2 separate regions of the Homo sapiens genome follow, and region 2 is linked to region 1. Evidence: promoter capture Hi-C in human tissues and cell types (Jung and others, 2019). All regions are on one chromosome and are shown on one strand. The core of a region is centred on a gene start or on the middle of the fragment in contact, and the rest is flanking DNA. Distances in the headings are between cores, read along the strand shown.

The links. The method cuts DNA at HindIII sites, captures the fragments that hold promoters and counts their contacts. A contact is called where the count stands out against the background at its distance.
Region 2: a fragment that was not itself captured here is called in contact with the fragment with the promoter of OVCH1-AS1 in region 1 in 1 of the 25 tissues and cell types used here (small bowel).

What each region holds. Positions count from the first base shown.
Region 1 is chr12:29,387,782-29,393,687 of GRCh38, reverse strand. OVCH1-AS1 (OVCH1 antisense RNA 1) reads right to left here and starts at 4,394. Exons shown (of 2, transcript NR_073172.1): 1 at 3,835-4,394. The HindIII fragment of the contact is 7,391 bases long and covers 1,576-5,906 here.
Region 2 is chr12:29,070,412-29,076,676 of GRCh38, reverse strand. No RefSeq gene overlaps it. Among named protein-coding and RNA genes, the nearest start is that of FAR2, 76 kb to the left of the region's middle. The HindIII fragment of the contact is 3,937 bases long and covers 1-3,385 here.

The sequences.
Region 1 (5,906 bases), core at 3,145-5,644:
TACTAGCAAAGAGCCCTTCCCTTCACCCTTCCTCTTCTCCCTCTTCCACCATCCCAGTGACTAAGTATAGGATGTCTAGCTCCAAGAGGTGGACTAATAAAGGTCACTCCCAGAAGACAGGCCTTCCTAAAAACTAACAAAAGGACATTCACAAAGGGACTGATTTACTACATCTATTTTTAACATACTTTGAGCATTAAGACTTATCCTTTAATACACAATATTAACTAAAATGCACATATAGAACAATGTTTAGACCATCTGAACTAATCTCAGGAGCACAGAACCCTTCTCCCTGCATACCTCCTCTGCCCACCCCCGCTTCCCCCGCCCCAACCACCTAATGAATAGTCTGCATTCGCTCCTAAGCATCACCTTTTAACAATTCCATTCCCAAATGCAACCACTCCTAGGAAGTACTGAAAACAAATGCTTAGAGGGGTGTTACTTAAGCCCTCTACTTTTAACCTACATTGTGCACTTTTTTTTTTTGAAACGGAGTCTCGCTCTGTCGCCAGGCTGGAGTGCAGTGGTGCGATCTCGGCTCACTGCAACCTCCACCTCCCAAGTTCAAGCGATTCTCCTGCCTCAGCCTCCCGAGTAACTGGGGCTACAGGTGGACACCACCACGACCAGCTAATTTTTGTATTTTTAATAGAGATGGGGTTTCACTATGTTGGCCAAGATGGTCTCGATCTCTTGACCCCGTGATCCGCCTGCCTCGGCCTCCCAAAGTGCTGGGATTACAGGTATGAGCCACTGCAACAGGCCGTTGTACACTTTTAAACACCTAGAAAGACTAGATGTTTCAAACTGGACTTAAGTTTTTCATTATATACACAGTAGCATTGAATAAATGGTATACATACATAACACAGACTGTAATTTGAGTGTCTTCTAAATAGGAACATTCTGGCCTAGAACCCTTCCCTTTCCCACCTCTACCAACCCCGTGGACAGCTATAAGCCATCTGTAATGCTTAGGGGGGATTTTAACAATCTCACTTCTGTTTTTAAGAAGTCTTTCCTATGAATTTTAACACAAAGTGTACTCAATGTAGTAGTTTACTAATTCTACTTTTGTCATATACTGGCAACCTTTTTAACGTCGACTGGATGTAAATTAGGACTCCTTTGTCCACTTATATACACTATATACACAGCACAGTAAATGAAAATGCAGACATAAGGGACAATGGTCAATGTGCCTCCTCATAAACACACTGGACACTGGTAGAAAGCCCTTTGCACTTTGTGCTCCTCCTTCCCCCTGAACCAGCACAAATATCAAAATGTGTACTGCTCAGAGAATTGATCAATTTCCAAGACAATATTTCATATCAAAAGGATAGCTACAAAATGTGTTATTTACTACCTCTACTTTTAACATACTTTGTGCACTTCTAAACATCTAGAAAGACTAGATGTTTCAAATAAGGACTTAAGTTTGTCCGCTATATACACAGTAGTGTTGAATAAACTACACACATGTAACAATGGGTATATCTGAAAGTGTCTTCTAAATAGGAACATTCTGGTCTAGAACCCTTCATTCCTTCCAACTCCTCTCCACCACCAACCTGGTGGATATAGGCACGTGTCACTTAGAGCTGATGTTATCTCACTTCCAAAAGTCCTTTTCACAAGACAGCTTTTCTACAAATTTTAACAAAGTGTACAAAATGTGTTAGTTTACTAACTCTACTTCTGTCATACATTGGCAACCTCTTTAGTATCTAGAGACTAGATATTATAAAATCGGGACTCATTTGTCCATTATATACACAGTATAGCAAAGTTAAATGAAATGCATGTAACATATAGGCAATGGATTAAGCTGAAATTTGTTAATAAACAATGTCAAAACACCATTTGCAATTTCTTCCCTCCCACCTCCCAGGTGGTTCAACAATTCCACTTCCAAACAGCATTTCCCATCAGTTTTTAAAAGCTATTTACAAAGTGTTATTCTACTACCACTTTTAAATACATCAAGCACTTCCAAATATCTAGAAAGACTAGATATTTCATATAACTTGTCCACCACGTACACAGCACTGTTAAATAAAATTGCACACACATAACAATGGTTATCATCTGAGGTATCTTCTAAATGTGGCCATTTTGGCCTTGAATCATTCCCCCCTCCCTTCCTTCTCTGCCTTCAATCCAGTGGACAAGTACAGGCACATGTAATGCTTAGAGATGGTTGACCAAATTCCTATGCAAAAGTCATTTACAGAAGACAAGTTTTCGTATGAATTTCAACACAAAGAGTACAAAATATGCTAATTTTACTACATTGTCATACACTGGCAACCTCTTTAACATCTAGAGACTAGATGTTGAAAAATTAGGACTATTTGTCCATTATATACACTATATACAGAGCAAAACAAAATGCACAAAACATATAGAAAAATGGTGTCTGAAAACGTCCAAGTATGAACACACTAGTATATTACCTTTTGCAATTTCTTCCCTCCCACTTCCTCTAAACCATTGAACAAGTATAGACATTACTATACTGCTCACAAAGGTGGCTTCACAATTCAATTTCCAGAAGTATTTCCTATGAATTTTAGCAAAAAGATATTTACAAAGTGGTATTTTACTACCTCTACATTTAACATACATTGGGCACTTCTAAACATCTAGATAGACTAGATGTTTCAAGTAAGGAGTTAATTTGTCTACTATGTATACAGCAGTCTTGAATAAACTGCAAACATGTAAAAACAGTTATAATTTGAAAGAGTCTTCCAAATGTGAACATTCTGGCCTAGAACCCTTCCCATTTCCATCAACCCAGAATACATCAAATTTTCAGAAGACAATCTTTCCTAGGACTTGTAAAACAAAATGTACAAAATATATTAGTTTACTAACTCTACTTTTGTCATACACTGGCAACCTCTTTAACATCCAGAAAGACTAGATGTTGTCAATTAGGATTCGTCTGTCCTTTATGTACACTATATACACAGATAAGTAAAACAAAACGCACAGAGATAATGATTCATCTTGCCTCGCTGTAAACAGGATGTCATAGAGCTCTCTGCACCTCCCCCTCCTCTCTCTTCCCCTGAACCACACTGCACAATGAGCATTACTCAACAGGTGATTTGGCCATTCCCCCCAAAAAACATTTCCTATGATTTGTAACAAAAAGGTATTTACAAAATGTGATTTTGCTACCTCTAATTTTAACATATCAGGCACTTCAGAACATCTAAAAAGAATAGACATTTCAAAAAAGCTTAGCATTGTCAACTATATACACAGTAGTGAAGAATAAAATGCACACAAAACAATGGATAGAATATGAAAATGTCTTCTAAATATGACCAGTCTAGCACAGAACCTTCTTCTCTTCCTTCTCAGGTCTTCCACCTCCATGTCATCTAACCCACTTAACAAACGTGGACGTATCGCTTCCAGAGGCCGTCTTAACAACTCCATTTCTAAAAGTCATCTCCAGAAGACATGTGTTTTCTATGATTTCTTTTAAACAAATGAGAATTTACAAGATGTGTGACTTTCTATTTTATCATATGTCGGCAACCTCTTTCCATCTAGAAGGGCTAGATGTGACAAATGTTTTCTATTAAAAGGTTGGGGTGAAGTTGAGAGCAGCTTTTTCATATTATATACACAGGCCTTACATAAACGGCCAGTAAATCTTCCCAGAGGGTGGTGGGCATTTCCAACGGGCCAAACGTGGCCTGTCATTCTACCATTTCTCTCTTCTGACAGCAAAGTCTGGTAGAACAAAGACCAACCGCCCGATAGCCGCTAACCGTTCCACCCGTCGTCTTTCGGGACTTCACTCACCTTCCAGGCCCCTGAAGGCCTTTGTCCGTTGTCGTCAGGACTAGGTCGGTCTCGCCCAATGGCGACAGAGTGGTCACCCGGGAACCGGATCTGCGCGGCTCCGTGGCCTAAAGAGGTGGCCGAGCCTGCTTGCGTCCCTAGGCCGCCTTCCCGGGCCCTCCACGCCTTAATGGCCTCCGCCGCGCGGCGTTCAAGCGGCCGCCATACTTTCCGGCCCACCACGCCCGGCGCCGCCCAAAGGCGCTGCGTCCCAGCGACTCTGCGGGGGTTTCGTCGAGGCCCGGCAGGCTTGGGTCGGGAGACGCGGCGGCCGGCGGGGTCCCGTCGGGGAGACGCAGCCGCCGCCATCAGTCATCCAGGTGGGGTGGGAAAGAGAGGTTCGCTGCGGCTTCAAGGCCTGGGCACAGCCAGTGGGCAGCCACAGCAGAGGCCTCCGGTATCTGCAGGGCAGAGGCCTCGGCCTGTCCCGGGGCCCCCCAGTTCACCCGCCGGCCCGGGTCCGGAGGGCCTGGAGGGCCCTGGAGGAGCTGGCTGCGTTCTGCGTCTCTCCGCGCTCTCTGCCAGACCGGAACTGAAGTTAGATTTTTGTATCAGGAAATATAAAAATATCTTCTGCTCTGCTCAGTTGAATGTTCATTTTTTTCTCATAGCATCATGTTTTTTTCCTTTTCTTTATAATTAAGACAGTTCATCATGTACATAAAAATCACATACATGAAGGCACACACATACACAAATGTACTTGTCTTAGATATTCTCTTAGGTTCAGTTGGGTTTATTAATATATAAATATTAACAGGTAAAAATAAAGTAGTAATTGTTACAAGGATTGTTATAAGGCCTGTCACTCTGGAAGGCCACATTTGTGTCTCCAAAGTCCAGCACAACATTTTAAAGAAGGATGAATTTGAAAGTCATTGGATGAGACAAGTATGCTATCTTCATGACCCCTGAAAACATTTGAGTTTCACAGGTGATAAGATTTGTCAGCATTTCTGAGTATTTATTTGTGTCATATTATTGAAATTAAAATTTGACCATAGCATGTGAATTAAATAGGTTACCACTTTTTAATGTAATAGAGAACAATAAAATATTTATATTATGTCTTAGGCACTTAGTTTTAAAACCTCACCCACTTTTAGCATACAATTATGCTTTTAAAAGGTTTAAGAAATATAAAAAGAGCTGAAATGACTTAAAATATAGATTATAGAAAATACTAATAGATGAAATAAATACATTTATGATGAAAAGAAGAACAGATAATATTGATGAAAGAATATTTGGAAATGGAAAGTAAAACACTAAATTAGAATGTTGTAATCAATATAGATAAGTATTTGAAATGAAAAACGTATTTCAGCTGAGTATTTTTGCACTGAAAGATATTGGGCCTACGGTACAATATGTTAAATACATATAGTAATATATTATTGATAATTATTAAGACTATGTACTAACACCTATCAAGATAAATAACACCAGCCATATATTTTTGGGGAGTTTATTTATTGGATCCCTTTTTACCCACAATATATAGTACAAATTCCATGAGGGTAAGAGTGTCTGCTTTGTCACTATGACAAAGTACTTGGTACTTAGCACATCATTTGTCATATTAAAGGTGCTTAATGAAATGAATATTTGTTACAAGAGTGGCCAGACTGCAAGTTCAGTTGACAGATCTGTGGTTCATTTGAGCCTATTAATCCTATTAAAATATTGCACAAACAATGCTTTATAGATAGAAGTGATTACCTTGCTGAAACAGAGGTATCAGATGGCACAGACTGTGCATGGACTGAAAGTATTTATTCATCAGCTGATTATGAAATCTAAACTTGTCATGTGAAAAAGTGATATAAGACTTTTAAGGTCAGGCGCCATGGCTCACTCCTATAATCCCAGCATTTGGGAGGCCAAGGTGGGTGGATTATTTGAGGTCAGGAGTTCGAAACCAGCCTGATCAATACGGTGAAACCCCGCCTCTACTAAAAGTACAAAAATTAGCCTGATGGGGTGGTGGGTGCCTGTACTCCCAGCTACTTGGGAGGCTGAGGCGGGAGAAT
Region 2 (6,265 bases), core at 168-2,667, 310 kb after region 1:
CTTTTTTTTTTTTTCTCTCTCTCTCTCCTTTTTGAATGAGCTCCTTTGGTGTTGGTTCTGTTTTGGGCAGAAGTTCCCCTGATGGTAGTAAAATTGTTATCAGCAGCTTCCCAAATTTCTCATTCACATGGAAATAAAAGAGTAAATTTTTTTTTCTAATCTAAATGTTGCACAGAAATAACAGCTTCCTTATGCATTGATCAATTCAGGTCACAAGTCCATCCCTGAACTAATCACTATGAATGAAACATGACCCATAGATATTAAGGTAGAATAATTTTCTTTGAAAGGATTTGGTTGTGTGAGGGCAGACAATAAATTCTGTTACTATTACTAAGAGAAGCAGCAGCCCAGAACAGCAATTATCTATGACAAATTTTATCCCATTCATGTTGTCTCTTCTAAATTGAGATCACAAGATTTCCTTATCATGCAGAGAACTACTCTTTATCTATATTCTGGGTAATTCCTCTCTTTCCTTTGGGTGAAGTATGTTTTTTTATCTGCCTTTTGCATATATGTTTTGTTTTCCTTTTTTTCGGCACAGCTTTTATGTATTAGTCCCATGCTGGTTTCTTTCTTTTTCTTTCTTTCTTTCCCTCTTTCTTTCTTTCTTTCTTTCTTTCTTTCTTTCTTTCTTTCTTTCTTTCTTTCTTTCTTTCTTTTCTTTCTTTCTTTCTTTCCTTCTTTTTTTTTTGAGACGGAGTCTCATTCTATCACCTAGGCTGGAGTGCAGTGGCACAATCTCGGCTCACTGCAACCTCTGCCTCCCAGGTTCAAGTGATTCTCCTGCCTCAGCTACCCATGTAGCTGGGATTACAGGCACGCGCTGCCACACTCAGCTAATTTTTTTGTATTGTTAGTGGAGACGGGGCTTCACCATGTTAGCCAGGCTGGTCTTGAACTCTTGATCTCAAGTGAGCCGCCTGCCTTGGGCTCCCAAAGTGCTGGGATTACAGGCATGAGCCACAGTGCCTGGCTGGTTTTTTTTTTTTATAGTTATTACTCATCCTCAAATGGATGCCAGAAACATGCTAATACATACATACACATGTACATACATACATACATACATACATATTGTAGTTAGGAATGGTTGAGGATGACAGCAAAGTATTTAAATCATCAGCTCTGTGTTGCAGTTTGACTATAACCGTTTCCCCTCCCTCTTTCACCCCACTTCACCTCCAGAGGTCTCCCTTAGCTAGAACACCACATTGTGAATCTCTTCTTTCTCTCTCTCTCTCTCTCTCTCTCTCACACACACACACACACACACACACACTCCTCACCTACTCTTCCCCTACTTCTCACAGCATGATTTGACTTTCTACTGCATTTTTCCTGCATTCCGAGTCATTATCCTGGGTCTCCCTAAGGACACCCCCCTCTCACCATTCTCAAAGCCTCTTTATACCCAAAGAGCTCAACACTCTAATCAAAGGAATTTTTAGGCTACTGGTGACATAAACTTCTTGGGAAACTAGTTGTCTTGGTCTAGCTCTTAGGAGTCTCTCTTCTCTCATCTTCGTCTAGACTTCCCAGTGCTTGGCAGATATGCCTCCTAGTTTGTGGCTTGTGGTTGTGTCCTGTTCCAGGTCTCACTGAAGATAGATTATTTTTCCTCTACTTTTTTTGTTTGCTTTTGGTGGAGTTTGAGGGAGTGGAGAAGAGTAAAACATCTTCTACTTCCCTTTCTTTAACCAAAAATCTTCAGAATTCTTTCAGTCAATTTGAGATGTTCACTTGGATGTCCCCCAGACACATCAAAACTAACATGTTAAAAAATGTAAACATATTCCTTTCTGCCTTGTACCACAAGCCTTTTCCTTCTTCAGTTTTTCTTATCTCAGTCAGAAGAACCACCATGCCCCTGTTGCCTTGATCCGGGAATGCTGGAGATTTTCCGGACTTCTTTCTCTTTCATACTTACAACACCTAATGGTTGTCACGTCTTGTATATTTTATCTCTTCTATACCTTTCAAGCTCATCCCTCTCTCTCAGTGCCCACTGCCATTTCTGTTTTTTTTGTTTGTTTGTTTTGTTTTGCTTTGTTTTTTGTTGAGACAGAGTTTCGCTCTTGTCACCCAGGCTGGAGTGCAATGGCCTGATCTCGGCTCACCACAACCTCCACCTCCCGGGTTCAAGCGATTCTCCTGCCTCAGCCTCCCGAGTAGCTGGGATTACAGGCATGCGCCACCACAGCCGGCTAATTTTGTATTTTTAGTAGAGATGGGGTTTCACCATGTTGGTCGGGCTGGTCTTGAACTCCCGACCTCAGGTGATCCGCCCTCCTTGGCCTCCCAAAGTGCTGGGATTACAGGCATGAGCCACCATGCCCGGCCTGCCCACTGCCTTTTCTAAGATGCCACCTCTTTGTATTAGGTTGGTGCCATTACTTTTAATGGCAGAAACCGCGATTACTTTTGCACCAACATAATAATTATCGCAATTACTGCTCTCCTCCAGGACTGGCTGGCCTTGATGTTGTTTGACCATTTTTCTGCTGTGTTAGAATGCTAAAGAATAGATAGGAGAGAAATGGGAGAGGTATACAGTATAAATTGTCTCTTCCAAATCTGTTCTTGAGCAACTTTCAGAAAAATCACAAATGTGTCTCTGATAGTGGGTTCTTTATAACATGATAAAGTCTACACTTTTGTTCTTAAGAAGAATGATATACTTAACTACGTTCTTAAAAACAACAAAAGGTTCTCATTTTTCTGGTATGTTAGCAGTGATGGCAGGAGGGTGGAGTCCTGGGGACCAATTCAGCAGTACAGCCAAGGGAAAAAATAAAGCTTCAGTCAGTCTTTCAGCAGGCCAGGGAAAATTATTGCTAGAGGACACCTAGTGGCGCTTTGTAGTAATTCACTTACACTAACAAATTGTACATTTGAATATTAAGAGCACTCACTATACCAGGAACTTGTCAACAAATATAACACAACCATGATAAAACAGCAAAGTACAAACCAAGCCTGGTGTTAAATCTAGTTGTATTGGTTGGTATGGGCTAACTGCTGTAACAAACAACCTCCAAACTTAAGGTGCTTAACTTAATAGAGTTTATTTTGTGTCCTCACACAGTACGGATGCTCAGCTGGTGACCTTCCATACAATAACACAGAAAAAACACTTGATCGCATGGAAAACAATGTACCTTATACTTGTATAGGAATATTTAACATCATAAATACATCACTTCTCAAAACAGAACAAATAAAACAAAATACAACATTGTATGTAGAAATGGGCATGGAAAATTGGCAAGACTCATTGAACTACATTTAAGAGCTATGTAATTCACTATACATAAATTTTACCTCAATTTAAAAATGAATTTTTTTTTCCAAAAGAACATCCAGTAGAAAGCTGACAAAAAATAGCAATAAAGGTTAAGGGTAGGGGACACACCATATGTTAAAACTCATGAAATCCCAATAATTAAAAGAGAGTGGTACTATAATTTTAAAAAATTACTAAAAAGGAGAGAGATTGGTATGGGCATGAGAGTAGGCAGGTTAACGAGCTAGAACAGAAAACCCAGATATGCCCAAGTGCATACAGAAATGTAATAAAAAATAAAGTAGTCATCAGAAATCCAGTCACCTATTCAATGAATGTATTTGGGATAACTGTAAATATCTGTATTCTGCTTGGAGAAAGGAAGAAAAGAAGGAAAGAGAAACAAAAGTTATTCATGCTTGAGAAAAATCCCCTCAAGCATTGTATTAGTCAGGGTTCTTCAGAGAACAGAACCAATAGGATGTGTGTGCATATATGTAAGGAATTTATTATGAGGAGCAGCTCATGAAATTATGGAGGCTAAGTCCCAAGGTCTGCAGGGTGACTCAGGAAGCTGGAGACCTAGGAGAGCTAATGATACAATTTCAGTGTTAAGGCTGGCAGGCTAGACACCCAGGAAGAGCTGATTTTTCAGTTCAACTCTGAAAGCAGGAAAAAGCTTACATCCCAGTTTAAGGCAGTCAGGCAGAAAGAATGCTCTCTTATTGGGGGCGGGTCAGCCTTTTCTTCTATGCAGGCCTTCAGTTGATGGGATAAGGTCTTCCCTCATTAGGGAGTATACTCTGCTATACTCAGTCTACCGATTAATCTCATGCAAACACCTTCACAGATACACCCAGAATAGTGTTTAACTAAATATCCAGGCATCCTATGGCCCACTGAAGTTGACACATAAAATTAACCATCACAGTCATCATAAAAGATTTACATTCTCTGACATTTTATTCTCTTTCCTGAAATCTTGCTGTCACAAAGGATCATAATATTTGACCTGAAAAGGATGATAGAAGAGATATTTATTGCAGAATTTTGCAGCTATATTTTTAACATACACATGGAATTTCTCCTCTACTTCTTGCTGAATACAGGTAAGCCTCAAATCTATGACATAATATTTTTTAAATGAAAAAACATAGAGAAACTCTTGCTCTTTTCATCTGACAGAAAGGCATCAAATCATGTCACCTCTGGTTGCCCACTAAATTAAAAAGACCACTTGCCATTGATTGTTGCATTTTAGGATCCTATCTATTCCTGTGTTAGCACACTCCTGACCAAAAGGACACACACTGTTCCTCATTCTCTTTTTTCTATAATGGGTTTGCATTTGATCTATGCTTTGGGTGATTAATGGTGGTTAGTTAACTTTGATATTTAGCTTGATATTGATATTATGTATTGATATTATATCAATATCTGATATTGAGCTTACTCTGATATTTCAGTGAGTGCAACAGAAATCACTCCAAGGTAGGTGAAAGTATGGAATCATAAATATATTCTTGAGCTTAATATGACATTCATGTTTGAATCCTGCATGGTCCAAAATTGTCCAAATGATCTCACAATTGGAAAGGCTCTTCAAGAGGTAGAATTTGAACAGAAGGCTTTCTGAGTATGTCAACCAGTGTCACTTTTAAACCTAAGGGCACCTTTCTGCAGAGCATTGTAGTCCTGGGGAAAGGAAGAACTTAACTGCTAACAGGGATCACCTCGGCATGGTTTAGCTAATTGATATCAATGGCTCACATGATTCACTGATTTTACATCTGCTTTTTTCCTTTGAAGCAATTCAAAACCATATTATTTGGTGTCTTAATTGAATCAAGCTAAAAGAAAGTCTTTCTGATTTTTACAGAAAAAAATCAATAACCAAAGATAACTGCTGAGTTAAGGCAGCATTCCATCCTCCATGTCTCATAATGAGAATACATTAGCAAATAAAATGATCAAGAATGAGCCTTTTAAATGACAAATGGCTTTGTAATACTAAGTCTTAATTACCATGACTAAGACACATGCCCATTACACCAGAAACATTCTTTGTTCTTCCAGTTTTCTCACAGTGCAAATTGTGTGTATTTATATGTGAACTGGAGAAATTAATCACTGCCTTTCTTCACTGGCAACTGTTTTCTCTCCCTATCCAGCAACCATCATTGGAAGATTGGAGATAAAATAATGAGTCCTTATAAGAACAGTGAAACTGGAGTCTCTCTTGTGCTTACCCAAGAAGCAGCTGTTGAAAGGTAATGTAGTTCCTCTGTTTTTCTGGTAGGTCCCAGGTGGGGAATAGAACTAACCCCTGCTCTGCAGGGCAATGGATCTTGATGTTTCCAGGAAGGAAAACTAAGTAGTTATTAGGCAATAAAGAAAAATATTTCCTTCCTGAGTATAGGTTTACATTGCTCTGTCCCTGAAAATTGATATCACCACAAGATAGGACTGTATATATTTGATTTAAAAGGTTCAATAGTTAAGGAAGTAGGAATGTCTGCATTTCACATTTCTCTATATTGTTTACTGTTATAATTCAAGTCTCCAGAACAGAATAATGTCCAGTAGGTGTAAAATATTTTTTGTTATGTAAATGAACACTTTATTTTGTAGATGAAGATTCATACCTGATACAAACTACAATTCATATATACATTAAATAAAACATTCATATTGAATGCACCCATGTAAATGTTTTGGTAAATTAATCAAAGTTAATTTCACACTGTGAATTATTATTGTTTTTTTCTGGAGTTTTCGTTTGCCTCCAGCAGAGTGACTTAGAGTCTCCCCTTCACCAACCCTGCCCTCCCCACCATGAAATTCATTTCACAGGCAGGAGGTGATGCTGTGATTGAAGAGAATTTCCCATCTGCATATGTTGGGGTTAGCATAAGAATGCTGCAGTTAGAGGATGCTTATAGATGCCCTAAAAGCCTCTGTCATAGCAGTGGCCAA